Regions from separate parts of the Homo sapiens genome. Here region 1 is linked to region 2. Evidence: promoter capture Hi-C in human tissues and cell types (Jung and others, 2019). All regions are on one chromosome and are shown on one strand. The core of a region is centred on a gene start or on the middle of the fragment in contact, and the rest is flanking DNA. Distances in the headings are between cores, read along the strand shown. Region 1 has its middle 85 kb from the start of TARS1-DT. Region 2 holds the start of MTMR12 (myotubularin related protein 12).

Region 1 (5,326 bases), core at 2,380-4,879, 1.0 Mb before region 2:
TGTTGAAATCTTCTTTCACCATTCTATGTCATTGATCTCTTTCTCCTTTAATCTCTCGATTTACACATTCCCTGTGCCAAATGATGAAGAGCAGTTTCTAACATTTTTCCTTGTATTATTTTCCCTGTGAATGCCGTTGTTGCAAACATATTTTGAAAGCTAATTTTTTTATTATGGAAATCTTATACATAAAAATCATTAAAAAAGTGTAATTGTCTCCATGTATCTATTGCCCAACTTCAACAGTTATCAACTTTTTGTCAATCTTGTTTCTTTTAAATTCTCTGCTCTCCTTTTATTTTGCCCAGAGTATTTTAAAAGCAAATCCCCAGACATCCCGCAATTTTATATGTTAATAGTTCAGTATGTATGTCCAATTGATAAGGATTTTTTTTCTTATAACTGCAAGGCCATCATCATTTTTAACAAAATTAGTGATAATTCCTTTTTATCATTTAACACGCAATTAATATTGAAATTTCTCTTATTGCCTCAAAAATATGTATATATATTTTTAGAGATGGGGCCTCACTCTGTTGCCCAGGCTGGAATATGGTGGCATGATCACAGCTCACTGTAACCTCAAACTGCTAGGCTCAAGCAATCCTCTTGTCTTGGCCTCCCAAGCAGCTGAGACTGCAGGCATGAGCCACTGGTCCTGGCCCCTCAAAAATATTTTTTAACAGTTTGTTTGAATCTGGATTCAAACAAAGCCTACACATTTTATTTGGTTGCTATATCTCATAAATCTCTTTTAATTAATTACAGTTTCTCTTTCCTAACTTTTTAAAAGAGTTTTCTAAAAACTCAAAATTTAGACAGAAAAACAATTCAGACTGCATTTATCATAAAGAAGTCACTTTCTTATGTATTAAATGAGATGTCTATAACTCTTAATCATGAGATAACTAAAATTAACATGCTGATTTCTCATCAGTTCAGCATAAAGCAAAGAAATTTGACATTTTAGTTAACTTATGCATCTTTATTTCAAGGCTTATTTCCATTTGTCTTTTTAAAATAAAAATAGTTTGGGAAGTTTACTCCTAAAATGTAAAGTTGGGGCCAACTGACGTTTATTATAGCAAGACAGTTCTTACATTTAAATACCTAATATTAAGTATTTTTCTCAGCAGGAAGAGTCCTTTTATGTCTGCACTCCCTCTCTCCAACCCCACCAGTTATCACTGATGCTGTCTGGTGAGGCTTTCCTGTTCTCCAGGTCTCAGTCTTTGCCTTTGACCTATTCATTGGCTATTCTCAACCCCAATGACTTTGTCTTCCCCATGAGACTGGACAACAGAGGGGATGAGGAAAGCATTTTACCTCTCTTGCGGTTGGAAGGAGGGGAGAACATGAGATCAGTGGAGAGGGAATCATTGAAACAGTCAGAGACCAAAACCCTGAGAGAGACAGGATCCTATAGATCTAAGTTAAGAAGAAGGCTGATTTAGAGAGATATTTAGCTTTGGTGGCTGTGAAGATTATGTTTTATCCAGACTCAAAGTAGAAAGGGTGTTCAATCCTAGGTCTGAGATTTGTTATATTATTATTAAAAAAAATCTTTAATTTTGTAGATAGAGCCATCACCAGAGATTAAAAGGGCAGTTTTGGCTGGGCATGATGGCGCATTCCTGTAATCCTAGCACTATGGGAAGCTGAGGCAAGAGGATTGCCTGAGCTCAGGAGTTTGAGATCACCCTGGGCAACATAAGGAAACCCTGTCCCTACAAAAGTGTTTTCAAAAAATTAGGCCGGTGTGGTGGTGCACGCATGTGGTCCCAGTTACTCAGGAGGCTGAGGTGGGAGGATCACTTGAACCTGGGATGTCAAGGTTGTAGTGAGTCATGATTGTGCCACTGCACTCTGGCCTGGGGGTCAGGGTGAGATCCTTTCTTTTATTTTCATTTTTTAACTTTTTTGAGATGGAGTTTTGCTCTTGTTGCCCAGGCTGGAGTGCAATGGCGTGATCCCAGCTCACTGCAACCTCCACCTCCTGGGTTCAAGCAATTTTACTGCCTCAGCCTCCCAAGTAGCTGGAATTACAGGTGCCCGCCACCACACCCAGTTAATTTTTGTTATTTTTAGTAGAGATGGGGTTTCACCACGTTGACCAGACTGAGATCCTTTCTTTTAAAAAGAAATAAATAACAACAACAGCAACAATAATAATAATGATAATAATAATTGGTGTAAACTAGGAAAGAACACAGCCAGTTTGATTCCTAGATAGTGACTCCTCTGTTACTTTAGTAATTTGATTTTTAATATATCAAATTATTTAAAATTCTTTAGAGGGGCTCACCATGCAAAGAAATATTCCTTTTTTCCTCAAGTAAATTATAACCTTTTAATTACTTGTTTTATAAGTTTTGGCTTTTATATTTTGACATTTCTTGAAATGAGTTCTAGCTAGATATTTGAGAAAATGAAAATAGGAGCACTGATGTTACTTGGTCTACAAAGAGAAAATAACATCTCTGTTGTATTCATTCTACTATTATAGCTGTAAGAGATGCCACATACTATAATTCTGATGACATCAAAAGGTTCAGTGGATGTATTCTTGAATATTCTCTGGACATATGTAAACATTTTGAATATATCACAACTTTCATTTTTCCTAATAATGGAAAATTAACCATGCAATTAAATATATGACAGTCATGGATGACTTCATAAAGGGATTTTAAACTGAATTATAGCTAATAAAAAATACAAAGCAAGGGTATTTACAGCTACTATGAAAAAATTACAAAGAAAACAATAAAATCATCTTTAGGGCTTTCTTATTAAAATTAGTTTTTGCTGTCTAAATGTAAACTTTATCCTTAATTTAGGTTTTGTTATTAGCAAATTATGTTTTAAATTAATTGGTGGTGTCAAAAGTATCATTAAAATGTGTTAAGGCCGGGCGCGGTGGCTCACGCCTGTAATCCCAGCACTTTGGGAGGCCGAGGCGGGTGGATCATGAGGTCAGGAGATCGAGACCATCCTGGCTAACAAGGTGAAACCCCGTCTCTACTAAAAATACAAAAAATTAGCCGGGCGCGGTGGCGGGCGCCTGTAGTCCCAGCTACTCGGGAGGCTGAGGCAGGAGAATGGCGTGAACCCGGGAGGCGGAGCTTGCAGTGAGCCGAGATTGCGCCACTGCAGTCCGCAGTCCGGCCTGGGCGACAGAGCGAGACTCCGTCTCAAAAAAAAAAAAAAAAAAAAGAAAAAGAAAAAAAATGTGTTAAAAAGATATTATTGATTGAGCACTCTGTAGTCTCAGTGTTGCCAGGAGATGTATTTGGTTTAACTGAAATATAAGATATTTTTGCCTTTAGTTATTTATAGCCTTCTTAGGTAAACGAGAGAAAACACATGAAATTATGAAAAAAGAGTCAGTGGCGATTAAGTGACATACTGTGTCTTACAATCACTACTTGGATAAATAATTGATTGGTATGAGCTGAGGTAGTTTGTCTTGTGGTTCCTGATAGAGTTTCTAAAATTAAATTACTATTCCAGTATCTTCTTGGACCTAACCATTTGGTTAAAGGTCAAATTCCTTCTGCTACATATCAGAAATTCCGTCTGTAATTTTTATTTGAACATTTCCCTACCTTTTTCAATAATGTATTCCCACCCTAACCACCCACCAGAGAAAACAACACAGGATTCTTTTGTGTGGTGATGGCATTTTGTGAACAAAAGAACATGACACATGTGATTCAACTGAGTATCTGGATGTCTGCATGATGCTGTAATGTAGTCCTTTGGACAAGAATTACATGCATCTATCTTGGGAGTCACTGTACCAGGGCAGAAGTGAAGAAACCTTGGACTTTAAAACCAGCCCCTGGGCAGAATTCTGTTTTTGAAGGGAAAAAATAACCGAGAATGGTGTGTGTGTGTGTGTGTGTGTGTGTGTGTGTGTGTGTGTATGTATAGTGGCAATAATGGCAAATTTCACAGATAAGGAAATAGCAACAGTTCTGAATTATTTCCTAACAATATTGAGTGAGGGAGGAGCTCTGTCTTTCAGCTTTCAAATTATGTAAGAGGGATGAACTGCTGAAACTAGCATCTGGTACCAGGTGAGTCAGCTGCTATGTACAAACTTAAGTGCTTCTATTCACCATGCTAGGTCAGGCTGTAGTAACAAGCCATACCAAAATCTGAATGGCTTGAAACAACAAAGCCATGTTCCTTGATCCCACTCATGTCCACTGTGACCCAGCAGAGGATTTTGTTGCACTACACTATTGTCCCTACTCTGGGACCAAGGTTGACAAAGCAGCCACCATCTGGAACATTACCAGTCAAAGTGGCAGAAGGGAAAACAAAACAAAAAAACCTCTCTAGGGTCTTGTATCTGCATCAGTCTCTAACTTGAATATAACACAAATCATGGGGGAGGGTACAAAGACAGCCAAATAGGAAGAGCTCCAGTCTACAGATCCCAGCGTGAGCAATGCAGAAGACGGGTGATTTCTGCATTTCCAACTGAGGTACTGGGTTCATCTCACTGGGGCTTGTTGGACAGTGGGTGCAGCCCATGGAATGTGAGCCAAAGCAGGGCAGGGCATCACCTCACCTGGGAAGTGCAAGGGGTCAGCAAATTCCCTTTCCTAGCCAAGGGAAGCCGTGGCAGATGGTACCTGGAAAATCAGGGCACGCCCACCCTCATACTGCGATTTTCCAATGGTCTTAGCAAATGGCACACCAGGAGATTATATCCCGCACCTGGCTCAGAGGGTTCAATGCCCATGGAGCCTTGCTCACTGCTAGCATAGCAGTAAGAGGTCAAACTGCAAGGGGGCAGCAAGGCTAGGAGAGGGGCGTCTGCCATTGCTGAGGTTTGAGTGGGTAAACAAAGTGGCTGAGAAGCTCAAACTGGGTGTAGCCCACCACAGCTCAAGGAGGCCTGCCTGCCTCTGTAGACTCCACCTCTGGGGGCAGGGCATAGCTGAACAAAAGGCAGCAGAAACTTCTGCAGACTTAAACATCCCTGTCTGACAGCTTTGAAGAGAGTAGCGGTTCTCCCAGCATGGAGTTTGAGATAAGAGAATGGACAGACTGCCACCTCAAGTGTGTCCCTGACCCCCGAGTAGCCTAACTGGGAGACACCTCCCTGTAGGGGCCAACTGACACCTCATACAGCCAGGTGCCCCTCTGAGATGAAGCTTCCAGAGGATCAGGCGGCAACATTTGCTGTTCTGCAATATTTGCTGTTTTGCTGCGTCCACTGGTGATACCCAGGCAAACAGGGTCTGGAGTGCACCTCCAGCAAGCTCCAACAGACCTGCAGCTGAGGGTCCTGACTATTAGAAGGAAAATT
Region 2 (6,016 bases), core at 2,797-5,296:
AACTCAAAGATAAAATTACTAAGAAGCTCAAGGCCGGCCAGGTGCAGTGGCTCACACCTGAAATCCCAGCACTTTGGGAGGCTGAGGTGGGTGGATCACGAGGTCAGAAGTTCAAGACCAGCCTGGCCGAGATGGTGCAATCCCGTCTCTACTAAAAATACAAAAATTAGCCAGGCACAGTGGCAGGCACCTGTAATCCCAGCTACTCAGGAGGCTGAGGCAGGAGAATCTCTTGAACCCAGGTGGCAGAGGTTGCAGTGAGCTGAAATCAGGCCACTGCACTCCAGCCTGGGCAACCGAAACTACAAAGGATTAAACCCTAAGTCCCTCGCCCCCCGTTCTTTTTTTTTTTTTTTTTTTTTTTTTTGAGACAGGGTCTTGCTCTGTCACCCAGGCTGGAGTGAGTGGCATAATCATGGGTCACTGCTGCCTCCAGGGCTCAAGTGATCCTCCCACCTCAGCCATCCAAGTAGCTGAGATTGGGACTACAGGTGCACACCACCATGCCAGGCTAATTCTTTGTATTTTTTGTAGAGACTGAGTCTCCCTATGTTGCCCGGTCTGGCTTCAAACTCCTGGACTCAAGTGATCTGCCTGCTTTGACCTCCCAAAGTGCTGAGATTACAGGTGTAATCCCACTGCACCCGGCCTCCAAGCCTTCTTAAGTATGAGATTCTGTGTGACTGCACTAGTTTCATGTCCAAAGAAGCCAGCCTTGGACATAGTCACATTTACTAACAACTATGGTGAAAGGTCATGGAAATTCAAAATACTTTGAAAAGTAAGAAAGGAAACATTTTCTCAGTGTCTAAAAATCTGCCCTGCCATTCTACTTCGAAAAGTGAAGACTGCTGCAAAATATAATGATATTAGTCTTGACAAAGAAAAGTATTCTTTAACACTCCCATGAAGAATATCTTTTTTTATGAAGCCTTACTTTGTAACTATAATAGGTTTGTTGCCCAATGCACTGGACAAGTCAATACACCAAGGCACCAGGTTACAGCAGTGAAAGAGGTTTAATTGTAGGGCTGCTGGATGAGGAGACAGGAGGAAACCTCAAATTCATCTCCCTGAGGAGTCAAGGAGTTTGGGGCTAGGGTTTTTTTGCGGGGGGATGGTTTTTGAGACAGGATTTTGCTTTGTCACCTAGGCTGGAGTGCAGTGACCTATCAGTTCACTGTAACCTCAAACTCCTGGGCTCAAACAATCTTTCCACCTCAACCTCCTGAGTACCTTGTACTACAGGCTTGCACCACCATGCCTGACTAATTTTTTAATGTTTCATAGAGACAGGGCCTCACTATATTGTCTGGGCTGGTCTTGAACTCCTGAACTCAAGTGAGCCTCCTACTTTGGCCTTTAAAAGTGCTGGGATTACAGGTGTGAGCTACTGCACCCTGCCTGGGGCTAGGGTATTTAAGGGTTTTGAAGTGGACCAAAGTGTGGAGATCATCAATTGGTTGAAAAGTGCAGGGTAAAGTCATGAGACAGAGAGATGAAGAAATTGTATTCTCGCACTGATTCGGTTCCTGTGTGTGTGTGGGTGTGTGTGTGTGTGTGTGTGTGTGTGTGTTGGGGCGGGGGCGGTCTTTAAACTGGTTGATGTCGGCTGTTCTGCTGGAACGTAGGATCTGCCTAAGCAATTCTTAAATAAAACCCTTATGATTCCAGAGCCAGAAATCCTACCTATTGAAACAACAGGGATGCAAATGGTCAGTACCTAGTGTTACCTGAAGTTATTAATACAAAGAAGCAGGCCGAACTGCAGCCTGATTAATGCTTAGTTATAACTCTATTTTTGTGCAGAATTCTTCTCAACCTTGTAAGGATGGCCTCAACTTGGACTCCCCAAATAGAATTGACCACACTTTCATTGTGCTCCTTTCTAATTTGTATAATTATAATGTTAAGAACTTGGGATTTCGAATGAGACAAACCCGGGTTGAAATCCCAGCTCTCTCAGTGACTAGTTGTGAGACCTGGGCAAATTACTTGCATCTCTGTTTTGTCACCTGGAAACTGGGATAAGGAAACTCAGAGGCGGCTGCAGCACAGCTATACCAAATATTGGCTTACAGGTGGCAATCTAGCTGGAAACGGAGCTGCAGGACTTGCGTTGAAACTATGTTTGCAAAAGCAAGCACATTTGTTTTCACTAAGATTTTATATTTACTTGGAGTGTATTTGGGAAGGGGGAGCACATGGAGATTAAGAGGGTAAAAATCAAGGTCACCAATGAGAGTACTTAGCACAGTGCCTGACGCCTAAAAAATTAACTGCAAATATTTATGTTTTTTTCCACTAGATTGAATTTCTTAAGAGCTGGATTCTATCTTATTTATCTGCAACTAACAACGCTTGGCACCAAATGTAGAACTGAAATGAATTTTCTTTGCAATCTTGACTAAAAAATGAGGGTTTTATCAATAACTTCGTAGAGTAAATAGAAGTCTCTTAAGGGCTCTTGATATTCTTCCTGTTGGAAACACAAAGAAGGGAAAGGTTTGGAAAAATGAAGTTGACAAAGTCTTTTATTATCAAACGCTCAAACTTATTCCTCACTGCCTTGTTAACACTTGATTTGACACTTTTTTTTTTCTGTTTGAGACACAGTCTTGCTCTGCCACCCAGGCTGGAGTGCAGTGGCGCGATCCTGGCTCACTGCAACCTTGGTTCAAGCGATTCTCGTGCCTCAGCCTCCCGAGTAGCTGGGATTACAGGCGCCCGCCACCACACCAGGCTAATTTTTGTATTTTTAGTAGAGATAGGGTTTCTCCATGTTGGCCAGGCTGGTCTCAAACTCCTGACTTCAGATGATCCACCCGCCTCGGCCTCCCAAAGTGCTGGGATTAGAGGCGTGAGTCATCGTTTGTCTCATTTTTGTTTACATTTAAAATAATAAACCTTGAGGTCGGGCGCGGTGGCTCACGCCTGTAATCCCAGCACTTCGGGAGGCCGAAGCGGGTGGATCATCTGAAGTCAGGAGTTTGAGACCAGCCTGGCCAACATGGTGAAACCCCCGTCTCCATTAAAAATACAAAAATTAGCGGCATGGCGCGGTGGCTCATGCCTCTAATCCCAACACTTTGGGAGGCTGAGGCGGGCGGATCACGAGGTTAGGGGTTTGAGACTAGCCTGGCCAACATGGTGAAACCCCGTCTCTACTAAAAATACAAAAATTAGCCGGGTGTGATGGCAGGCGCCTATAATCCCAGCTACTCGGGAGGCTGAGGCAGGAGAATCGCTTGAACCTGGGAGGCAGAGGTTGCAGTGAGCCTATACTACGCCATTGCACTCAAGCCTGGGCGACAGAACGACACACACACACACACACACACACACACACAAAATTAGCTGGATATAGTGGCGGGCGCCTGTAATCCCAGCTACTCAGGAGGCTGAGGCAAGAGAATCGCTTGAACCTGGGAGACGGAGGTTGCAATGAGCAGAGATCGCGCCATTGCACTCCAGCCTGGGCGACAAGAGCAAAACTCCGTCTCAAAAGTAAATAATAATAAAATAAAAAACCTTGAACGTCATCGCTGTAAGTTGGGAACTCCTATAGCAAGATTCCATACATCCCATTTTTGGACGTTTTATTCCAAAGACACAAGCAAACGGAAGAAAACGACTGCCGTGAACCCCTGCTAACGACAACTTGGTGACTGCAGGATCATTGGACGACGGTTTTATCCTCGCCATCCAATCGTTGGAAAGTCCGGAGAGAACGCTCTCTGGATTGGTTGGAGGAAACATCTCTCCAAGTGCACTCAAGAATGGGTTGGGAGCGGGGTTCGGCCGGCAGCGCCTCGGGCCAATCAGAGAAAGCATGAGGGCGGGCTCTGCCGCAGGAAGGTGGTGAATCTCGGCGGGTCAAACTCTCCTGACGTGATGGGGGGGCGTGGCCTCCAGTTGCGGTCTCCCGGCTCTCTGGGCCCGCGCACGGGATGGGCGGGGCCCACGGGCCTGGGCGGGGCGAGCGGTGTCAGCGGCGGAGCCGGATGCGGGCGGCATCGCGGCGGTCGCGGCCTTGGGGATGGGCGGAGCCCCAGCCGCTAGTGCTGGTGGCCGCCGCTGCTGCCCCAGCTGGAGCCCGAGCCGCCGCCTCTGCGTCCGCGCGTCGCTGCTTCCCAGGGCGGCGGTATGCTGGGGAAAGGAGTAGTCGGCGGTGGCGGCGGCACCAAGGCCCCCAAGCCCTCCTTCGTGTCGTACGTACGCCCTGAGGTGAGGGGGCGCCGCGCAGGCGGGGCGTCGGGCAGGGGCGGCCGGGGCGAGGGGCGCCGGGAGCCCCTTCCTTGCAGCGGGGAGCGCCGCGGAGCGCTTCCTGCCCTTGTGCCGGGCGACGGGGCAGCCAGGCGGGCTGAGGCCGCAGGAGCGCGCTGGGGCCTCCGCGCGGGCCGGAATGGGGACCCCGGCGCAGGCAGGCAGGTGCCTGAGCGCAGGGCCCGAGCGCTGGAGGCTGGTGGAGGGGCCCGAGCCGAGAAGGGATTGCGGCCCGGAACGCCCCTGGGGATTCTGGAGAGGACCTGGGGTTGTGGGCACTGCTGGGAGGGGTAGGGCCGTGGGTCGGAGCCCCCAACGGGGCCTGCTCGGAGCCCGCGTGGGTCCGTCCTGCCTCTGGACTTTCTCAGTGAGCCCAGAAGCCCGCCGGCCTCCGCTGCCTGCGTCTGAGTGCCTCGGGTGCGGCTGGCGGGATGCCCTGCACCTACGTCCGCCTCCCGTCAGCGCTGCGGGGAGAAAAGGGGGTCGGCCTGGCCTCAGCCAGTCTCTGCTTGTCTCTCCCTTGGGAATTCTCCGCTGTCGCTTCTTTCTCCTCATCCCCTCACCATCATCCTTTCCACCCACTTCTTACTCTTCTGAATCTTCAGGTCAAGAAATTTGTTCATTCATTCAGAAAATACTTCTCGAGCTCCTACTGTGTGTCAGGCACTAAGTGCTTGTGATAGACATCAGTGAACAGGACAGAGATCTCTGCATTCCTGGAGCTTATTTGAGGGGGAAAGGAGAAACGGGGTGAATTATAGATAATTAAGTAAATTATACGGTGTAGTAGGAGGTGATAAATATCATGGGAAAGAAAAGAAATCTTTTTCCTCCTCGCAAAGGTGGCATTTGAGCCGAGACTTGAAGATACGAGAGGTCTGAGAGAAGAGTCGTCCAGGTAGAGGGAACAGCCCCCGGGAAGGTCGTGAGGTGGGAGTGTGTCTGAAGGGTTGGCGGAGCGTCAAGGAAGCCAGCATGGCAGAGGCCCATGGACAAGGGGGACAGTCATAGGAGAGGAGGTTAGAGAGATCAGAACTTGTAGGCCTTGCTCAGGGCTTCTTGAGCAATAGTTCTTAATCCAAATGCCTAATGAGAAGCCTTCTTGTTTTGCATCTGTAAAGGTTTTTTTCTGCCCTTCTCTCCAGCAGAAGTGCAGAAGCACCGCCAAATTTGTTGCAGATGTCTTCCCACCTCTGTAATGCAGAAGCACGTGGGCTGTGGATGAGAGATCTGATCAGGGACTGCTTCCGTAAAGACCACCTGGGGCCTGAGGCATTTGCATATGTATCTTTAAATTCAAGATATGTGTGTTTTCTCCAGGGGAAAGTGCTCTTAAAATGGGTCTTATTTTTAGTCCTAGTTGTAAAATACAAACCATTTCCTCTGTTAGCACTTGATGTGGAGTCAGGGTCATCTTAAAGTTTCAGCGGGCTTCCCTTGTGGTATCACATTTAAGCAATGTGGTCAATTTCTCTTTGTGTCTTTTTAAAACATTTAAACATTTAAAAAATTTTTGTGGGTATAGTAGGTGTATATATTTAATGGGATACATGAAATATTTGGGCTGGGCATGGTGGCTGACACCTGTAATCCCAGCACTTTGGGCCGGCTGAGGTGGGTGGATCACCTGAGGTCAGAAGTTGGAGACCAGCCTGGCCAACATGGTGAAACCCTAAAATTAGCCAGGCATGGTGGTGCGCACCTGTAATCCCAGCTACTTGGGAGGCTGAGGCAGGAGAATCGCTTGAAC

Evidence for each region. Contacts are between HindIII fragments. The study calls those that stand out against the background at their distance.
Region 1: a contact is called between a fragment that was not itself captured here and the fragment with the promoter of MTMR12 in region 2, in 1 of the 25 tissues and cell types used here (aorta).

Annotation. Positions count from the first base shown.
Region 1 is chr5:33,353,371-33,358,696 of GRCh38, reverse strand. No RefSeq gene overlaps it. Among named protein-coding and RNA genes, the nearest start is that of TARS1-DT, 85 kb to the left of the region's middle. The HindIII fragment of the contact is 7,182 bases long and covers 39-5,326 here.
Region 2 is chr5:32,310,969-32,316,984 of GRCh38, reverse strand. It overlaps MTMR12 (myotubularin related protein 12), which reads left to right and starts at 4,046. Exons shown (of 16, transcript NM_001040446.3): 1 at 4,046-4,227. The coding sequence starts at 4,147. RefSeq lists an enhancer at 3,578-3,627 and silencers at 3,718-4,507, 4,578-4,717. The HindIII fragment of the contact is 13,800 bases long and covers 1-6,016 here.